2 separate regions of the Homo sapiens genome follow, and region 1 is linked to region 2. The links are contacts of gene promoters, found by promoter capture Hi-C in blood cells and fetal thymus (Javierre and others, 2016). All regions are on one chromosome and are shown on one strand. The core of a region is centred on a gene start or on the middle of the fragment in contact, and the rest is flanking DNA. Distances in the headings are between cores, read along the strand shown. Region 1 has its middle 15 kb from the start of CETN2. Region 2 holds the start of PRRG3 (proline rich and Gla domain 3).

Region 1 (5,082 bases), core at 206-2,705, 1.1 Mb before region 2:
GCAGGAAAGAAACCCGAATAGCATTGCCACTGCACTCTCTTTCTCTCCAGTTTGGCCTACACGCTTTTGTTTTTTTCTTAATCTTTCTTGCTTAGAATTTTAACTGCCTATAATGCCCATCCGGACAATTGCTCAAGGCACCAGAGCTTCCTGCTATGGGTTCAGGCTCCCTAAAAGGCCCATATGGCTAGTGTGATGGTTAATTTTATGTGTCAACTGGACTGGGCCACGGAGTGCCCAGACATTTGGTCAGACGTCATTCCCGGTGTGTCTGTGAGGGTGTTTCTGGATGAGATTAGCATTTGAGTTAGGAGACTGGGTAAAGATTGCCACCCATTATGTGGGTGGGCCTCATCCAGGTAGTTAAAGGCCTGAATAGAAAAAAAAGGCCAACTCTCCCCCAAGTAAGAGAGAATCCCTCCTGCTTGAAGGCCTTCAAACTGGGACATTGGCTTTTTCCTGCCTTTGGACTCAAACTGCAGCATCGGCTTCTCTTGAGTCTTGAGCCTGCTGGGCTTTGGACTGGAACTATGTCATCAGCTCTCCTGGGTCTCAGGCCTTCGAACTCTGACTGGAACTACATTATCAGCTCTCCTGGATCTCCAGCTTGCCAACTCACCCTGCAGATCTGGAAACTTGCCAGCCTCCATAACAGTGTTAGTCAGTTCCTTATAACCAACTTGTATATATTTATATATAATATAGACATAGATTTATATTTATAATCTAAATATATATGTTTAAATATGTATATTTATATGTATTATGTTACTCCTTACAAATGTATCTATCTTTCCTATTGGCTGCTGCTCTGGAGAACCCTGATTAACACAGGCAGCAGAGGGCGATCTCTCACCAAACACTGGCTGTTTCCCACGTTCGTCCTGTTGGATAGTTGTTTTCTCTGAAGGGGTGAAAAATCTTCCTCATTCCTTTTTTTTCCAGACAAAAGAAGGTAATTTCAGAGAAAGAGAGAAGCATAAAGAGTTGTTGGCATATGTGATAGGAGAAGTTCAGCTCAGATCAGGCCTGAGACGACCTAGGCAATGCATTCTACATGAGGCAGACACCAAAGTTCTTCTGCTAGTGACTTCAGCCAACACAGCATACTCTTCCTGGAAATCAAAGACCACGTTATAACCAGCAGTACAAGCTAAAGGGCAAAATTTTCGAAGTGGAACTTCTCTAACAGAAAAAAACAACAACAACAGTGGAACAGTTGGAAAGAAGGAAGAAAACTGACAGTGACAGAATGGCTATGTTTCCATTACGCATAATCTTGCATTCACGCACACATAAGAATACAAATGCAAAACAACACAAAACAAAAAGCAGAATGATACAATGGACTTTGGGGACTTGGGGGGATGAGTGGGAGGGGGGTCAAGGGATAAAAGACAACAAATATGGTGCAGCGTATACTGCTTGGGTGATGGGTCCACCAGGTTCTCACAAATCTCCACTAAAGAACTTACTCATGTAACCAAATACCACCTGCACCCCAATAACTTATGGAAAAATAAAATTTAAAAAAAAAGAAATCTGTGTTTGCCCACGTATAATGAAGATATTTTCCTGTGTTTTCTTCTGTAAGTTTTATAGTTTTGTTTTCCATGTTTCGTGTCTATTTCATCTTAATTTTTTGGTGGGTGGCAAAATTTTCCTTCTGAACCCATATGGAGACTCATTTGTTCCAGCATCACTTATTGAATAGTTTACCTTTTCCCAACTGATTTATAAATATATAAAAATTCTGCCATAAAAAAAAATCCATATATGAAAAAAAAAGAACACAAATGCAGAGAACAAGATCAGGAAAGATGCATACCAAATTTTTAACAGTGATTTTCTCTGGAGAGGGGAAGGAGGTTGGACGTGGCTACAGTGAAGTGGATTTTTAAATTCTATTCTGGGTTTGAATTTGTCAGAACAAAATTGTATTCATATATAACATTTATACTTAAAACTGTTCTTAGATACAGCTTCACACATGCTAGGACACGCTAGGACGGCTATAATAAAAAAATAAGGAAAATAACAAGTGTTGGCAAGTATGTGGAATAACTGGAACCTGGATTTATTGCTGATGGGAATGTAAAATGGTGCAGCCACCTTGGGAAACAGTGTGGCAGTTCCTCAGACGGTTAAGCATAGAATTATGATATGACCTAGCAATCACACTTCAAGATATAGATGCAAAAGAATTGAAAACAGGGACTTGAAAAGATATTTATACACCAATGTTCATAGCAACATTATTCATTATAGCCAAAAGTAGAAACCCAAGTGCATCCCAACAGATGAGTGGATAAACAAGATATGGTCTAGCCATACAATGGAATATTATTGAGCCACGAAAAGGGATGAAACTCTCATACATGCTATAACGTGGATGTACTATTAAAAACTACGCTTCCTGATAAAAACCAGACACAGAGGACAAATATTATATGATTCCACTTATATGAGGTACCTAGAATAGGCCAATTTTAGAGACAGAAAGTAGAATAGAGGTCACTGGAGGCTCAGGTGAAGGGGAAAGAGGAGTTACTGTTGAATGGGCATGGAGTTTTTGTTGATAGTGACAATTTTGGGGTATAGATAGTGGTAAAAGTTACACAACATTGTAAATATATTTAATGCCACTGAATTAGCAACAAATTGTTACATTGAAAAAGATTGTGTTATATATATTTTACTACAATAAAAAACTGACAAAATACTTAAGAGAAAGGGGTGTTATACTATTATATCCAGTTGCACCCTTTCATAGAGGAGAGAACAGTGGATTCCAGGATCTAGAGAGGGGAAGCCTCAGTTTTATGGGTAGCGGGCTTGCATGAAGCAGCAAATGCTACAGAAGTTTCTCGCAGCTGGAATATAATGAGACATGAGAATCAGCTGTCATCAGGCTCACAGTAAACTTTGTGAGTGAATGGACTGGTTTTATCTTTGCTCATCATTGCAACCTTAGTTTCTAGCACGGTATCTGGTGCCTGTAGGCACTCGATAAACATTTATTGAATGAATGAATGTATGCATGAATATCTGTGACTTCCTAGTAATCTATTAAAAAAAAACTATCTGTCCCATCAGTTTGGGCTGCATTGTCAATCATTTGATGCATAATTAGAAGAACAGGCCCATAATGCAAATATTTGGTTGTCATTAGCATAGAGATAGTGTATTAGTTGGGCCAGGTTAATTGCTTCATCAAACAATTTCTGTATTTCAGTGAGCTGACTCAATAAAGGATTATTTTTCACTCATGTTCAAAGTCAGTGGGGGTGGGTTGGGGTGGAGGCCGGGCTCTGTTTTATTCAGGGTATTAGACATCCAGCTTCCTCTTGTCCAGTAGTTCCAGGGGCCCCTAGGCACTCAGAGATCTCCACTGGCATTTTTTTTTTTTTTTGGCACCGGGCTGGCAGATGAATGAAAAGAGAGAACATGGAAGATCACGTGTGAGGTTTGAGTGGCCAGACCTGCAAGTGTTAAACATCTCTTCTTCCCACATCCCATTGGTCAGAAGCTAGTGGCACATAATCAAAAGGGATTCCAGGAAATGTGGTCTAACTGCATGTAAAGCAGGAAAAGGAAACCGTGTTTGGTGAACATGCAGCATGGTCCATGTTGCAGGTAATGTTGGAAGCCATAGATGAGGGGGAGTGCTTCTAGGTAAACTGTGGTGAGCCTGTTAAGAGAATGTAACCCAGCCCCGAAATCCTAGGAGCTTCCGTGTTTAAGAAGTGGGAAGAGGAGGAGAGGCCAAGAAGGGGGATGGAAAATAAGGAAAGCAACTGCAGGAAACCCAAGAGGATGGAAGGGCACAGAAGCAAAGGGAGAGGAAGTGGTCACCTGGGTGAAGCTAGTGAAGGCTGGAGTTTGCCCTCTGGATTTAGCAACATAAGCTCATTGACCTTAGCAAGAGCAGTTTGTGTGGTGTGGTGGGAGTAGAAATAAGATTGCCGTGGCTTAGGATTGAAAAGTGGCTGAGGAAACAGAGGGCCACATGCAGACGTTTTGAGAAATGTGACCGTAAAAGGGTGGAAAGAGAGTTAGCATGGTAGCTAGTGGCCATGTGGGGGTGGCAGTGGGAGAATTTTCTTTTTTTAATGGGAAAGACTTGAGAATGTTTGATTGTTTAGATGAAAGAAAATACAGTAAGTAAGAGTGTGGTATACTACCAGGAACGAATAAATGGACTATTGGAACAGAAGAAATAGTCTTGAAACAGGCTTATGTGCATATGGCAATCTGGTTTATGGTAGGGGTGGTATTAAAAATTGATGTGAAATGATAGGCCGTTTCTGAGACAGACAGGCATGCACCTATGTATGTGGTAATCTGTGTATATTGTATACTTTCATTTTTCCAGAAAGGATTTAAAACAGCTTAAAAAGATGAATTCTATGCAATAGAGTAAGACAAGCGTTTAAAGAGGGAGAAAATGACGTGGGGACAATGAGGGGAAACATGCATTTAGGTTTTACAACTTTAAGTATCTCTTTGATGCTGACTGCTTTAAACGTCCGTGCTAAGCTGATGTTAAGTATTTTGATCAACTAGTGCTGTGATCTATTAGACTGATAATTCTTTATGTAACTTGCTCTGCAATGTCCCATTTAAGGCAGAGATTCATATTTATTCTGGACGTTGTTCTGAAAAATCATGCAGTTTCTGCTCTTTGCTCCGTGTACTGTGCGACAGCCTTTGACCACAAGCAATAAAACCTGACATGAACGTTAGACAGGCACTGACTGTTCTGGTAGCAGAAATAGCTTCTAAATCAGACAGCAAGCTTGGTTTCATTTTTATATAATCATATCTGTTCCTGACCCCAGATGGCACCCCATGAGCCATCTTCTGCTGTATTTACTCTGAACTCTTTCTCCTAAGCTGTTGGAAACCCCTAAGCCTTTGCTTATCCTTATGTCTACAATGTCCCTTTATTCCCTGTCTCCTCTCAGCAGACTCTTTACAAGATCTAGCTTACCTGTCTGTCACACACTCGAGGGGATGCTTTCAGGATTCCTCCATGCTGGATTTGTACTCTTCTCTGTGCTTCCCCAGCCCTTGTTCTCT
Region 2 (4,647 bases), core at 1,778-4,277:
AAAAAGGAAAGCTCCTAAAGGCTGAGGCTCCTCCTTCCTTGCTCCCCTCAATGAATCTTTGCAACTTCCAATTGGAAAGGACCTCAGAGATAGATGAGGAGATACAGCCCAGAGAGACGGGCTCAGACAAGGTTAAGCAAATCAACAGTGACAGTGGCAGGACCAGAATTCACAACTAATTTTGAGCACAATGGTGAGTCACAGATACCTCCAATGACAAGCATGTTCCCTGAAAACAAAGCTTAACACAGCATCAACCATCTCAAAAGTCACTGCCCTGCTGGGACTAGCCTATAGCAACCTTCAGTGGACACATCTTCTACAGGGTCTCATCCTCCATGCACAACAATGCTGCATTCTTCATATTCCCAGGCATAATCAGAAGGCCCAAACCCAGGTGACCCGCTGTGTTCATCTTCACCAGACAAAGAGGCAAGATACCTGGAATCTTCTGGAACCAGGCCTCTCTTCTCTCTTTGCATTAAAGCCCATGGCAGTAGAGTGCCAAGACATGAATTTAGATGCCCGACACTGAGACGCTAACTACAAGAGTTGCCCCTAATGTGAGCTATTGTCAGAAAGCCTTTCTCCTGCTAAGGAGCTATCCAGCCAGTACTTAAACCATGGTCACAGCACACTGCTCCCTCTGTCCCTCCCCACAATACACACGCCCACTCATACACACATTCTAGAGCCCTTGCTGAGCTGTCCACATCTGGGAGCAATCACCCCACTGCTCCCCTCCCCAAGCAGAAGCTCTGGTTTGATGACTAACTGGATGCAAGACACGTGAACTGTGGAATCCATTGAGCCCTCCTTTTTGCCTAGGCTGCCAGGAAGTTCAGCGTCACTATTGCCAGTCAAGCACAGGCACCCTGGAAGCCCAGCTGTTAAGCACATATGCTTCTGTCCTGCGATGTGGTATACAGCTTTCTATTTATGTTTCCAGTGTCCTATTGTGCATTTATAATATGCCACCTAATCCTTTTGGCAAACAGGTAGGATATAAATCAATAATTTAGGCTGGTCGCGGTGGCTCATGCCTATAATCCCAACACTTTGGGAGGCTGAGGCGGGCGGATCACCTCAGGTCAGGAGTTTGGGACTGGCTTGACCAAAAAATGGTGAAACCCCATCTCTACTACAAATACAAAAATTAGTTAGGCATGCTGCGGTGCATGCCTGTAGTCCCAGCTACTCTGGAGGCTGAGACAGGGGAATCGCTTGAACCAGAGAGGCGGAGATTGAAGTGAGCTGAGATTGCGCCACTGCACTCCAGCCTGGGTTACAAAGCCAGAAAGAAAGAAAGAGAGAAAGAGAGAAAGAGAGGGAGAGAGGGAGAGAGGGAGGGAGAGAGGGAGGGAGGGAGGAAGGAAGGGAGGGAGGGAGGAAGGAAGGAAGGAAGGAGAAGGGAAGGGAAGGAGGAAGGAAAGAAGGAGAAGGGAAGGGGAGGGAGGAAGGAAGGAAGAAAGAAAGAAAGAGAGAAAGAAAGAGAGAAAGAGAGAAAAGAAAGAAAAGAAAATTAAAGGTAAAACAGCAGATCTGACATCTATTTGTGGAAACGCCACATCAAGGGGCTTTCTCTTTTGAACCCTGCAACAATCTCCCTCAAAACTATCAACATGTGAATTTGTCAACAGATGGCCTGCCTTGTGAGACAGTTGGCCCTCAATGTTTGTCAGAACCAAGATGGAATATGATCTCAAAATTCTGCTTGCATTATGGATACCTGAGCTTTATGTGGTGAGGGTGTGGATATAGTATGCCTCATGGCAAGGATTTTTTGCTTGAAGAAAAATGGAGCTGTTGTATCTGGGTTTGAGAAGAATGCATATAGTCTTAATAAGGGAAGAGAGAAAAATATGCTTATCAAAGGAAACTGCAGTGGTTTTTTAAAAAAATGGAGAAAAATTTACATAATAGATTACATATATCCATCTTTTGTCCCCCACACACCTAGCCTTGGTCAAAGGTGGCTATATGTCACACCTATCATAGACCCGAATACATGTTATCCTGACGCACCTGCTAAAGTCACCAGTTCATTTTTAAGCTTCAGTCGAGCCAGGAACACCCCCAAAACAGTTCCCATGGCATGGCCCACTCCATTAGCAATTCTGTAGCCACCTTCACTGCTGCTGCTGCCTGCCACGAGGCCTCTTCCCCCTCCCTCCCCAAAATGTAGCGCCTGCTTCTTCCCCTATAAATACACCATCAGTAGACAGTTACTATGGCAACAATAAGGAAGCAATCGTGAGGGCTCCACGACAAAGAATGATGCTGCAGCCACACATGTATATGTCCCCCATGCCCCTGGTGGATACTGTAAAGCTGACTGTAGGCGGAAGGAATTTTTAACCCACTCCCCGCAGGAACACAGCTGAATCCTGACAGCCTGGAAAGGAAGGAAGGCAGGGAACTGGCCACCACAAAGACCTTGCTTAACTCCACCCCAGACTGAAGCTTCTGAATCTCAGGCCTCTGGGACACAACTCCCAAAGTCCCTCACATGAAGCCTGGTGACCACCAGAGCACCTGGTGTCCCAAGACATGGCCTCCAAACCACTTCTCCAAACCCTAGACTTTATTTCCATCCCTCAGAACTGATCGCCAGGAAAGGGTTCTCCAAATCGCATGACTCATCGACCCACCCAGTGACACGACAACTCCCAAATTATGCTCAAACTCAAACTCTGGGGCCCCCTTGTCCCTTTCCACTCAGGCCAGCCCTGAAAGTGCCTGTCCTCGCCCACCTTCGCTGGACACCAGCGCCCTGACCCAGCAACACTCTTCTCCCGGAGCTGTTCAATACGCCCCATCCCCTTGGCCCGGACAGGCCTCTAGATCTTCCCTCCTCAACAATGCCCTGCACCCAGCTCGTTGGCCCTGGATACCGAACCGTGCCCTCGGGACTGGGACACCCAACCCAAATGGCCTCACCGTTCTCCGGGCCCAGAAGGCGGCCGCCCTGTTTGCGCACGCAGCCCGCCACCTCGCTGCTGCGCCTCTTCCAGCAGGGGCCCTGTCCCCGCCCACCTGCTCCCCGTCGGCCAAGCCCCCCGGTCCGGCCCAGCCGTCTCCTCCCTCCCTTCCTCCCCTCCCCGCTGCCCTCCCACCGCCCCGGGCACCCTGTCGCCCGCCCCTCCAGGGCCGAAGTGCGCCTGGAACCCCCGCCCCTCGCAGCCGGGCGCCCAGGCCCGGCCCATTACCTCGGCACCCCCCTGCCTGCCCCTGCTTTCCTCTGGGGGCTCCGCAGCTGCCCGCCCCCCACACCCCGCCGTTCCAGGGCTGGCCTCGCGCCCCGCGCCTCGCGCGCCACGACCGCAGTGCCCCGATCGCCAGGCCGCAATCGTCGCGCTGCCCCGCGCACCGGGCCGCCGGCCGCCTGGCCGAGTGGAGGAAGGAGGGGTGGGGGCGACGGAGTGGGCCGAGGGGGTTGGGAGAGCGGGCGGGCAAGCCGGGCCGGAGGGGCGGCGGCGCGCACCGAGCACCGCGCGCCCGCGCCCCACTCTGCCGGCGCCGCCCCTGCCCCCGCCCGTGCCGCCGGGGGGCGGGGCCTGACTGGCGGGCCTGGGGCACACAGAGGACCCTTGGTCAAAGCCCTGGTCCAGTCGTGACCCAAGGCGTGGGCCCTCGGAAGATACGGCGTAGCAGGGAGCTCCGGCGGCCGCTCCCAAGGCCCGCGCGCCAGGCGTCCCTGCGCAGCCCAACCCGCGTCCTGTCCCCACCCCCCGGGCTCACCTGCCATTCAGGCCCGCCGGGCTCCTGGGGCCAACGAAAAGAGAGGGGGGCTAGCCTGCAACCTAGGCCTGCCTTGCCAGGGATCCACAGGGCCCTCAGAAGAAGGACCGAGTCGAGGCCGCGTTCCGCCAATGACTGGGTGACCTTGGCTTCTTCACTTACCTACCCCCACCCTGCCCCGGGAAGGCAGGCTTCTCTCCTGCAAAGTCCGAGAAATGGGGAGAATTCTGCCTCCCTCGCGAGGCTGCAGCGATTTGAAGGAGGAAATGGGTTTGGAAAACTCTAAGGCTCAGTAAGGGGAGAAGGAATCTTCTGCGACTGCAAGGAGCGCTAGATGGGGGCTCCTTCGGAGGCCGCACTGTGAGAAGTTCAGCATGGCAGGACAAGACGCATAGCAGAGATTACACTAGTCCAGGAGGAACCACATGACAGGTCCACTGCTAAGAGAGGGGCAAAGGGGTTCCGGGTGGGCTGAGGTTCTGGGTCTAGGAAAGCCTCCCTCGGAGAAGGGGATGCTGGGTTTTTAGGGTTCCTTTTTGTTCTCTGCACATCTAGAACCCGGCCAGGCACTGGGGTTGGCGTCCTCTTCCTCCCTCCACCCCAAGTGTTGCTTTTGATGGGAATGAGTCTCAGAAGGCGGTTCCAGAACCACTCCCACCCCTATCCCAGGGCGGGTATTAGCAACCTGCCTTGCCAGGGGGCGGAAGAGGGGTGGGCGAAGGCCTTCATTGCCACCGGCCGCCTCCCCTCCAACCCCCAGGGCCTGGCTCCCCTAGCTCCCCCGATGCCTGCCTCTACACTTCTCTCCCCGCATGGTGCTTTCCCTTCCATTTCTGCCTCCTGTTAGAGTTCTTCCCTAGCTTGCTTGCTATTTCACGGCTGCAGGAATCTTCCTTACCCACGACA

Evidence for each region. The method cuts DNA at HindIII sites, captures the fragments that hold promoters and counts their contacts. A CHiCAGO score of 5 or more calls a contact.
Region 1: a contact is called between a fragment that was not itself captured here and the fragment with the promoter of PRRG3 in region 2, in 1 of 17 cell types (M2 macrophages). The highest score is 5.2, in M2 macrophages.

Annotation. Positions count from the first base shown.
Region 1 is chrX:152,813,053-152,818,134 of GRCh38, reverse strand. No RefSeq gene overlaps it. Among named protein-coding and RNA genes, the nearest start is that of CETN2, 15 kb to the left of the region's middle. The HindIII fragment of the contact is 6,690 bases long and covers 1-4,800 here.
Region 2 is chrX:151,693,838-151,698,484 of GRCh38, reverse strand. PRRG3 (proline rich and Gla domain 3) reads right to left here and starts at 3,027. Exons shown (of 4, transcript NM_001372163.1): 1 at 2,941-3,027. The HindIII fragment of the contact is 4,373 bases long and covers 2,466-4,647 here.